Linked DNA regions of Homo sapiens: region 1 is linked to region 2. Evidence: promoter capture Hi-C in human tissues and cell types (Jung and others, 2019). All regions are on one chromosome and are shown on one strand. Each heading gives the region's core, a stretch centred on a gene start or on the middle of the fragment in contact. The rest is flanking DNA. Distances are from core to core; before and after follow the strand shown. Region 1 has its middle 49 kb from the start of GPR6. Region 2 holds the start of PPIL6 (peptidylprolyl isomerase like 6).

Region 1 (4,084 bases), core at 544-3,043, 590 kb after region 2:
TGTAGCAGGACGAGCCACAGACAAAACTCCTCAGACACTGAGGTAAAGAAGGAAGGGGTTTACTCAGCCGGGAGCATGGGCAAGACTCCTGTCTCAAGAGCTGAGCTCCCCAAGTGAGCAATTCCTGTCCCTTTTAAGGTCTCACAACTCTAAGGGGGGTCCACGTGAGAGGGTCATGATCAATTGAGCAAGCAGGGGGTATGTAACTGGGCTGCATGCACCGGTAATCAGAATGAAACAGAACAAGACAGGGATTTTTACAATGCTTTTCCATACAATGTCTGGAATCTATAGATAACATAACCGGTTAAGTCAGGGGTTGATCTTTAACTACCAGGCCCAGGGCATGGCACCGGGCTGTCTGCCTGTGGATTTCATTCCTGCCTTTTACTTTTTACTTCTTCTTTCTTTGGAGGTAGAAATTGGGCATAAGACAATATGAGGGGTGATCTCCTCCCTTAATATAAGTAGCAAAATACATATGAAAAAATGTTCTGCATCCCACTCCACACAACCAAAAATTCATACGAGGGAGGAACCAAATTGTATGTATTACCATGAACTATTACACAGCCATAAAAAGAACAAAATAATGTCCTTTGCAACAACATGGTTGCAGCTGGAGGCCATTATCCTAAGTGAACTAATGCAGAAACAGAAAACCAAATACCACATGTTCTCACTTATAAGTGGGAAGTAAACATGGGGTACTCATGGACATAAAGATGGCAACAATAAACACTGGGGACTATCAGAGGGGGCAGGGGGAAGGGGCAAGTTTTGAAAAACTAACTATTGGGTACTATGCTTAGTACCTGGGCGACGGGATCATTCATACCCCAAACCTCAGCATCATACAATATACCCAAGTAACAAACCTTCACATGTATCCCCTGAATCTAAAATAAAAGTTGGAAGAAAAATAAAAATAAAAGGAAGAAAGGTTAAAAAGAAAACCCAGATGCATTATGTTAAAAAATTAAATAATAGATTAGCCAAATATAGAAAATCTTATGAAACCCAATGTTGATGAGACTGGTAAAACTTGTGTATTCATATATTGCTAGGTGTTATTGCAATTTGAAGCAGAATTTTGACAATTCGTCAATACATATTAAAAGCCATTAAAATCTTCAAGCCTTTCAACTCTGAAATGCCATCTGAGTAATATATTCCAAAAGAAAAGAATGCTTTACCAAAGCACGATCTATACTTGTGAAGCAACTGGATAAATGTAAGTGTATAAGGAAATAATTAACTAACTTATATATGTAATTAATATTGTCATTTACAAAGACAATTATGAATATGCTTGCATAACATTAAATTTTTGTATGATATATCATTTGGTACAAAAGCAGAATTACAAAATAAGAATGATATATTGTATAGGAATAATTGGGGTAAATTTTTTTCTATTTTATATTATGGCTATTAATGTTATCTTGCCAAAACAATTGAAAAATTAAAAGTTTCATAGCTAATAAATGTATCTTTTAACATTAGGCATTATAGGTATCTCAAAAATATGAAAATATCCGCTCATTTATTTTTTATCTTTTAGTTAAATTACAAAATGGAAGAGATTTCCCCCTAGAATTAACATCTATTTTACCATGATGTTAAACTAGTAAATCTTCTCAAGAATGAAGACTGAAGTGAATGCCAGTCTTCCCCTCAGGCCAACTGGAATACCCTCTCTTCCTCAGATCTGGGGAACCTTTACTAAAATGAGTACTGACCTTTTCACTTCCCTGAGATATCTATCATGCCTAATGCCAGAAGAGCCTTGTATTTAGTAGCTATAAAACTTGTAATTTTTCCTCTGTATGGACAAGATAACATTATTATTCTGGCCCTTAATGCCCTGGAAGAATCCACTGTTCAGCTCTGGGTTCCCACAATCCTTGCAACATCCCAGAGGTTGTCTCTGATCAGTTACACTGGACCCAGAGAAGTCCGTTCCTCTCTGGAATCCACTTCAACAAAGGGATACTCCGGAGGCTCAAGAATATTGAGAATGTGGACTGGATTCAAAATCTACTGGCAAGTTTGTGATTTTCATCTTGGTCAGGAGCTGAAACATCCAACGTTCTGAAGTCATGATATTTCTAATTTACGCATGAGCAAGGATAGAATTTTTGCAAAGTCAAAAACAATAATGGTAGTAAGAAGCATTCAGATTTCCTGACAAATCTCATGTAAGTCCATATCAACAAGTCTTCTTTCTGCCCAACAAATCTCAGAAAAATGATGTGCTAAATATACCATGTGTAGAAACAGGCTTGTTTTTATCTATGGCCACTGTGATTGAACTGTGATTATGTTTCCTTTTTTGCTTCAGTTGCTAGGAGGCTCAGTCAATTTTGCAGCCCACTTCTACTCTTGTATAGGACTTAATGTTAGGTAGCTCTCAGTCCCATTTTGTGCTGCTATAACAGAATACCACAGACTGGGTAATTTATAAATAACAGAAATGTATTTCTCACAGTTATGAAGACTGGGGAGTCCAAGATCAAGGTGTTGGCATCTGGTGTGGGCCTTCTTGCTGCATCCTCACATGGCAGAAGGGCAAGAAAGGAATGAACGTTGTGTCCTCACAGAGGAACAGGAGAGAAAGAACCCATTCCCACAAGCCGTTTTTATAACAGCATTAATCCATAGATGAAGGCAGAGCTCTCATGACCAACTACCTTCCAAAAGGCCCCACCTCCAACACTGCTGTGCTGGAAGTCAAGTTGCCAACACACAAATTTTGGGGGACACATTCAGACCATAGCAGTAGTTATCTTAGTGTTTTTGCCTCACTCTTAGCTTTATCTCTTTTCATTATTTTCCCTTTGTTTCCATTTCCTCAACTGTTTATCTTCTATCCTCTTACAGATAATTTTATAAGCTGATTCCAACCCATTTTTGAAAGAAAGCACACAGATTAATCAGATGTTGGATTATGCTTGTTGCCAGAGTGCCTCTGATTGCATTTCTTTTGACATTAGACAACCCGAAGAGGTGCACCTGGAGACAGGTACCTGGGCCACCCTGGCTGTGTTTGGCATGCTCCCTGATATGCCCTGCTCTAAGAAACCTAACTGTGGGATCAAAGCCATCGCTGATTTGAGCCCTAATAATTTCACCCCCCACAAAAATTAATTAATTTGATCTCTTTAAAAAAGTAGGATATTGGCCGGGCACGGTGGCTTAGGCCTGTAATCCCAGCACTTTGGGAGGCCAAGGTGGGTGGATCACAAGGTCAGGAGATCGACACCATCCTGGCTAACACAGTGAAACCCCGTCTCTACTAAAGATACAAAAAATTAGCCGGGTATGGTTGTGGGCACCTGTAGTCCCAGCTACTCCAGAGGCTGAGGCAGGAGAATGGCGTGAACCGGGTAGGCAGAGGTTGCAGTGAGCCAAGATTGCACCATTGCACTCAAGCCTGGGTGACAAACAAATAATTTCAGCTATTCAAAAAAAAAAGGTAGGATATTAACATTTTTTAAATGCCAACTTTATGCACTGGTTTTGGATTTAGACCTATAAATTTTAACAAAGGTATACACCTGTGGATCAATCACCCCCATTCAGGATATAGCAATTTTCAGCATCACTCCAAAAGTTCCCTTAAGTTCCTTTCCAGTCAATCCTTTGCCCCCATACCCTACCCCATCACCACTTATCTGATCTCTGTCACCATAAATTAGCTTTTTAGAGTTTCATACAAATAAAAGCATATATATTGTCTACATTAGAAGTTGGATTATTGGTACTGTTGAGTAGTAGTCCACTGTATGGATGCTCTACATTTTGTTTAAATATTCATCTGTTAATGGACATTTGTGCTGTTTCCAATCTGGGGCATGTATGAATAAAGCTACTATAAACATTTGCATGAAAATCTTTCTTGCAGGCCTATATTTTCATTTATTTTGGCCAAATATACAGGACTGAAATTGCTGGGTCATATGGTAAGCATATGTTTAATTTCATTAAGAAACTGCCAGACTTTTCCATAATGATAATACCATTTTACACATCCTTCAGCAACGTATGAGTTCCAGTAATTTCAAATCCTTGCTAATGCTTT
Region 2 (3,979 bases), core at 261-2,760:
ACTTTCTTTACAATGTGGAGTCGGCACAGAAAATATGTGCCTTCAGAAAAAGAGCGAAAAAAAAGAGAAAAAAAATCTCTGAAACTCATTAATACATTAACTTTGTAATTAACTTCATGGCCATTAACTTTGGTAATAAAAGGTTGCTGATCCCGTCTGCCCAAGCAACACAGACCACAATTTCTACTTTTGATGATTCATGTATTATTTTCACAGACTTCTGATCACTTGTTTTCTTTTTATTATTTATTTATTTTGAGACGGGGTCTGGCTCTGTCGCCCAGGCTGGAGGGCAATGGCGCGATCTCAGCTCTCTGCAAACTCCGCCTCCCGGGTTCAAGCGATTCTTGTGCCTCAGCCTCCTGAGTAGCTGGGATTACAGAGACCGCCACCACGCCCGGCTAATTTTTTGTATTTTTAGTAGAAACGGGGTTTCACCATGTTGGCCAGGCTGGTCTAGAACTCCGCCTCTGCCTCCCAAAGTGCTGAGATTATAGGCGTGAGTCACCGCGCCAAGATATCTTCTATTTGGGAACATTTTGTTGTCAAGTATCCAGCTGGGTACTTCGGGAGTTAAAAACATTAATTAAGGCATGGTCCTGGAGTCAAGTGAGCTTCGGCGAGAAGTTTGCCATGGACAGCATTTCTGGAGCAAACCCTGTAAGAAGGGCTGAATTCTACATGCCGACATTTCATACATTTCTCCTGCATTTCAGGTTGTAAGTGTGCTGCAGCATGACTGATCTGGCCAAATTCTTCCAGTTTCCTCAAGTGCTTTTCCTTTAGTATCGTTCTGAGTGTTTACAAAGAAATGATTTTCCAAAGCACTTGTGAAGCATCTAGTTCGATTGGAACGCAGTGACGGCTCTATAAAATTCAAAGAAAAGAATCTCCCCGCATGAATAGTTAACAAAAATCGCTTGGGCCGAGGTGGCGGGGTTGTAAAAATTAGCTAGTTATATAGTAATCATTTTTCCATAAATTTAAATATCTCTAATTAAAGAAAAAATTGACGTAGAACAAAATCTGCGGGTGTGTGTGTGTGTGTCTCGGAGGGGATTACCTTATCTCCCAGCGCGGTTCTGAACCCTTCCTTCGCTCAGTTCTCCCTTTAAAAGTCGCCAAGTGGAACGCCCGCCCCCGGACCCGCACTTGCCCCCCTATACTCTCCTCCCGGTCCTCCAGACGGAGCCCGCCCGGCCAGGACACGCCAGCCCCTTCCTCGGCCGGTGGGGCCTCGACCCCCGCCGCCTCGAGGAGGCGCGGCGCCTGCAGTCCACGCGGCCGAGAGCGGGTAGCGGGGAGGGCCGCCCACGACGGAGGTTTCTCTGTGGTTACCTCAGCGGCGCTCTTCGCAATCTGAAAGTTGGGGCAGCTGAAGAGCCCCACCACCTTCACCTGCAGCGGCCGCTCCGGCAGCGACGGCGAGCCGCACCTAGCGTGCGGGGGCCCGCACGGCTGCGGCCTTGCCATGGCCGCGCCCGGGGACGCCCGGTGACCCCAAACACTGCGCGTCGCTCCGGCAACCGCGCGGCCCCGCCTCCGCCGCTCGCAGGAGGCGGGGCCCAGGGGCGGGTCGAGGGCGGCCCGTGGCGGCTGGGCCTTTCCTCAACTTTGCGCCTGTTGCTGGGCCGCCGGCGCGCGGGCGGCCGCGACCGCCGGGGACGAGCTTGGAGGAAAAGGAACCGGGAGCCGCCCACCCGGGGGCGCTCTCCGGACCCCCAGGGTCCTAGCGCGCGGCCCTTACCGAGCCTGGGCGCCCGGATTTCGGCAGCGGATCGCCTTTCCGGGTTGGCGGCCCGCCTGATTGGGAACAGCCGGCCGGTTGCCGGGGGAACGCGGGAGTCGGGCCCGACCTGAGCCACGCGGGCTTGGTGCCCACCTGTGCGCGCCGCCTGCGAAGAAGGAACGGTCTGGGGAGAAGGCGCCGCCGGCCGCCCCCGTCCCCACCGCGGCCGTCGCTGGAGAGTTCGAGCCGCCTAGCGCCCCTGGAGCTCCCCAACCATGAAGCCCAACTTCTCCCTGCGACTGCGGATCTTCAACCTCAACTGCTGGTGAGTGCGTCTGCGGAGTGCGGTCTGGGGGCCACCTTCCGTTCGCACCCATGCAGCCTTCCTCCCCCTATCCCGCCCCACGATCTCAGGGTGTAGGGAAAACCCGAACCTCCAAAGTCCACATCTGGCCCCAGCGCCGGTGGTCCCAGCAGTCGCCTCCCCTGCCCCGCTCTTCCCTTCCTTAGGGGCATTCCGTACTTGAGCAAGCACCGGGCCGACCGCATGAGGCGCCTGGGAGACTTTCTGAACCAGGAGAGCTTCGACCTGGCTTTGCTGGAGGAGGTGAGATTGTGCAGCACGGTGCGGAACCCAGGCTGGGAGGAGGGACAGACCGTCCCACTGGGGAAAGACCAAGCAGGCATCCTCACCGCTTCCCTCAGGTGTGGAGTGAGCAGGACTTCCAGTACCTGAGACAGAAGCTGTCACCTACCTACCCAGCTGCACACCACTTCCGGAGGTGAGAAGCCCACTGGCCTGAAGCCTGTTGTCATCCCAGGAGGCTCTTGGCCCTGCCAGCCCTTCCCTATCCTGCCTGCACTCTCCAGTCTCCTCCAGCCTCCTCTCCCTCTGGATGTGAGAGAAGGAGAAGGGTGAACCAAGAAGGTCCTATGACTTCAGCCCATTTCAGCTTTGTTTTCTGGCTGCCCTATACTCCTCCAAAGGCTGTCGCCTTGGTTCTAGGGCTAGTCCCAGCAGTAGAAAAAGAAAAAAATAGCTGATCAGAGCTGGAAGACAAGGGAGGGGAAGAAGGCTGGGTGTCTCTCCCTGTTTTTCTGGTTATTAAGCAGGGCTTGGCTTTCAGCGGAATCATTGGCAGTGGCCTCTGTGTCTTCTCCAAACATCCAATCCAGGAGCTTACCCAGCACATCTACACTCTCAATGGCTACCCCTACATGGTAAGGCAGACCTTTGACCTCTTCCACCTCCCTTCCCCACCTCCAGTAATACAAGGTAGAGGAGGCAGCCCTCTGAGAGCTGCAGGGGATGGGCAGAAAGATGGTGGCGGTGCCCTGAGTTTCTATCTCCTCCTGCCTGCAGATCCATCATGGTGACTGGTTCAGTGGGAAGGCTGTGGGGCTGCTGGTGCTCCATCTAAGTGGCATGGTGCTCAACGCCTATGTGACCCATGTGAGTGAAGCTGGCAGTGCCTAGGGCTGGGACATGCAGCCCAGTCCTGGGACAGAGAGATGGTACTTCTCTAGCTCTCATACCTGGGGATGAGGTGTGGGGGCAAGATCTTATAAGGAAGCAATGGGCAAGGCTTATCCATTGTATACCAAACACCATGCCAAGTGACAGACACAGGCTTGATTCAGACATACCCCTGGGACCCTCAGTCTTATCTGCTGTGATCTCATCTATCTTGCTCAGCTCCATGCCGAATACAATCGACAGAAGGACATCTACCTAGCACATCGTGTGGCCCAAGCTTGGGAATTGGCCCAGTTCATCCAGTGTGTGAGCCTGGGCTTGAAATGGGAAGTGGGATGGGACCCAGGGGCTGAGGGTGAACAAGGCCCCAGTCATGGGGAAGAGCTGGTGATGGAAGAACTCCCGCCTCACCAACCTGGTTCCCCCAGCCACACATCCAAGAAGGCAGACGTGGTTCTGTTGTGTGGAGACCTCAACATGCACCCAGAAGACCTGGGCTGCTGCCTGCTGAAGGAGTGGACAGGGCTTCATGATGCCTATCTTGAAACTCGGGACTTCAAGGTGAGGACTTGCCTGTTACTTCCCCACCTATATCCCCAGCTTCTCTCCCTCCTTCTCCCCCACATCCTAGCATGAGCCAATGATTCCCTTAGGGCTCTGAGGAAGGCAACACAATGGTACCCAAGAACTGCTACGTCAGCCAGCAGGAGCTGAAGCCATTTCCCTTTGGTGTCCGCATTGACTACGTGCTTTACAAGGTCAGGCTCCTCCCT

The links. Contacts are between HindIII fragments. The study calls those that stand out against the background at their distance.
Region 1: a contact is called between a fragment that was not itself captured here and the fragment with the promoter of PPIL6 in region 2, in 1 of the 25 tissues and cell types used here (dorsolateral prefrontal cortex).

The regions. Positions count from the first base shown.
Region 1 is chr6:110,025,347-110,029,430 of GRCh38, forward strand. No RefSeq gene overlaps it. Among named protein-coding and RNA genes, the nearest start is that of GPR6, 49 kb to the left of the region's middle. The HindIII fragment of the contact is 6,911 bases long and covers 1-4,084 here.
Region 2 is chr6:109,439,118-109,443,096 of GRCh38, forward strand. It overlaps PPIL6 (peptidylprolyl isomerase like 6), which reads right to left and starts at 1,511. Exons shown (of 8, transcript NM_173672.5): 1 at 1,339-1,511. The coding sequence starts at 1,473. It overlaps SMPD2 (sphingomyelin phosphodiesterase 2), which reads left to right and starts at 1,607. Exons shown (of 10, transcript NM_003080.3): 1 at 1,607-2,054; 2 at 2,240-2,336; 3 at 2,435-2,511; 4 at 2,857-2,950; 5 at 3,093-3,182; 6 at 3,426-3,508; 7 at 3,635-3,767; 8 at 3,860-3,964. The coding sequence starts at 2,005. RefSeq lists silencers at 1,102-1,921, 1,563-1,768 and enhancers at 2,182-2,251, 2,412-2,491. The HindIII fragment of the contact is 4,118 bases long and covers 1-3,802 here.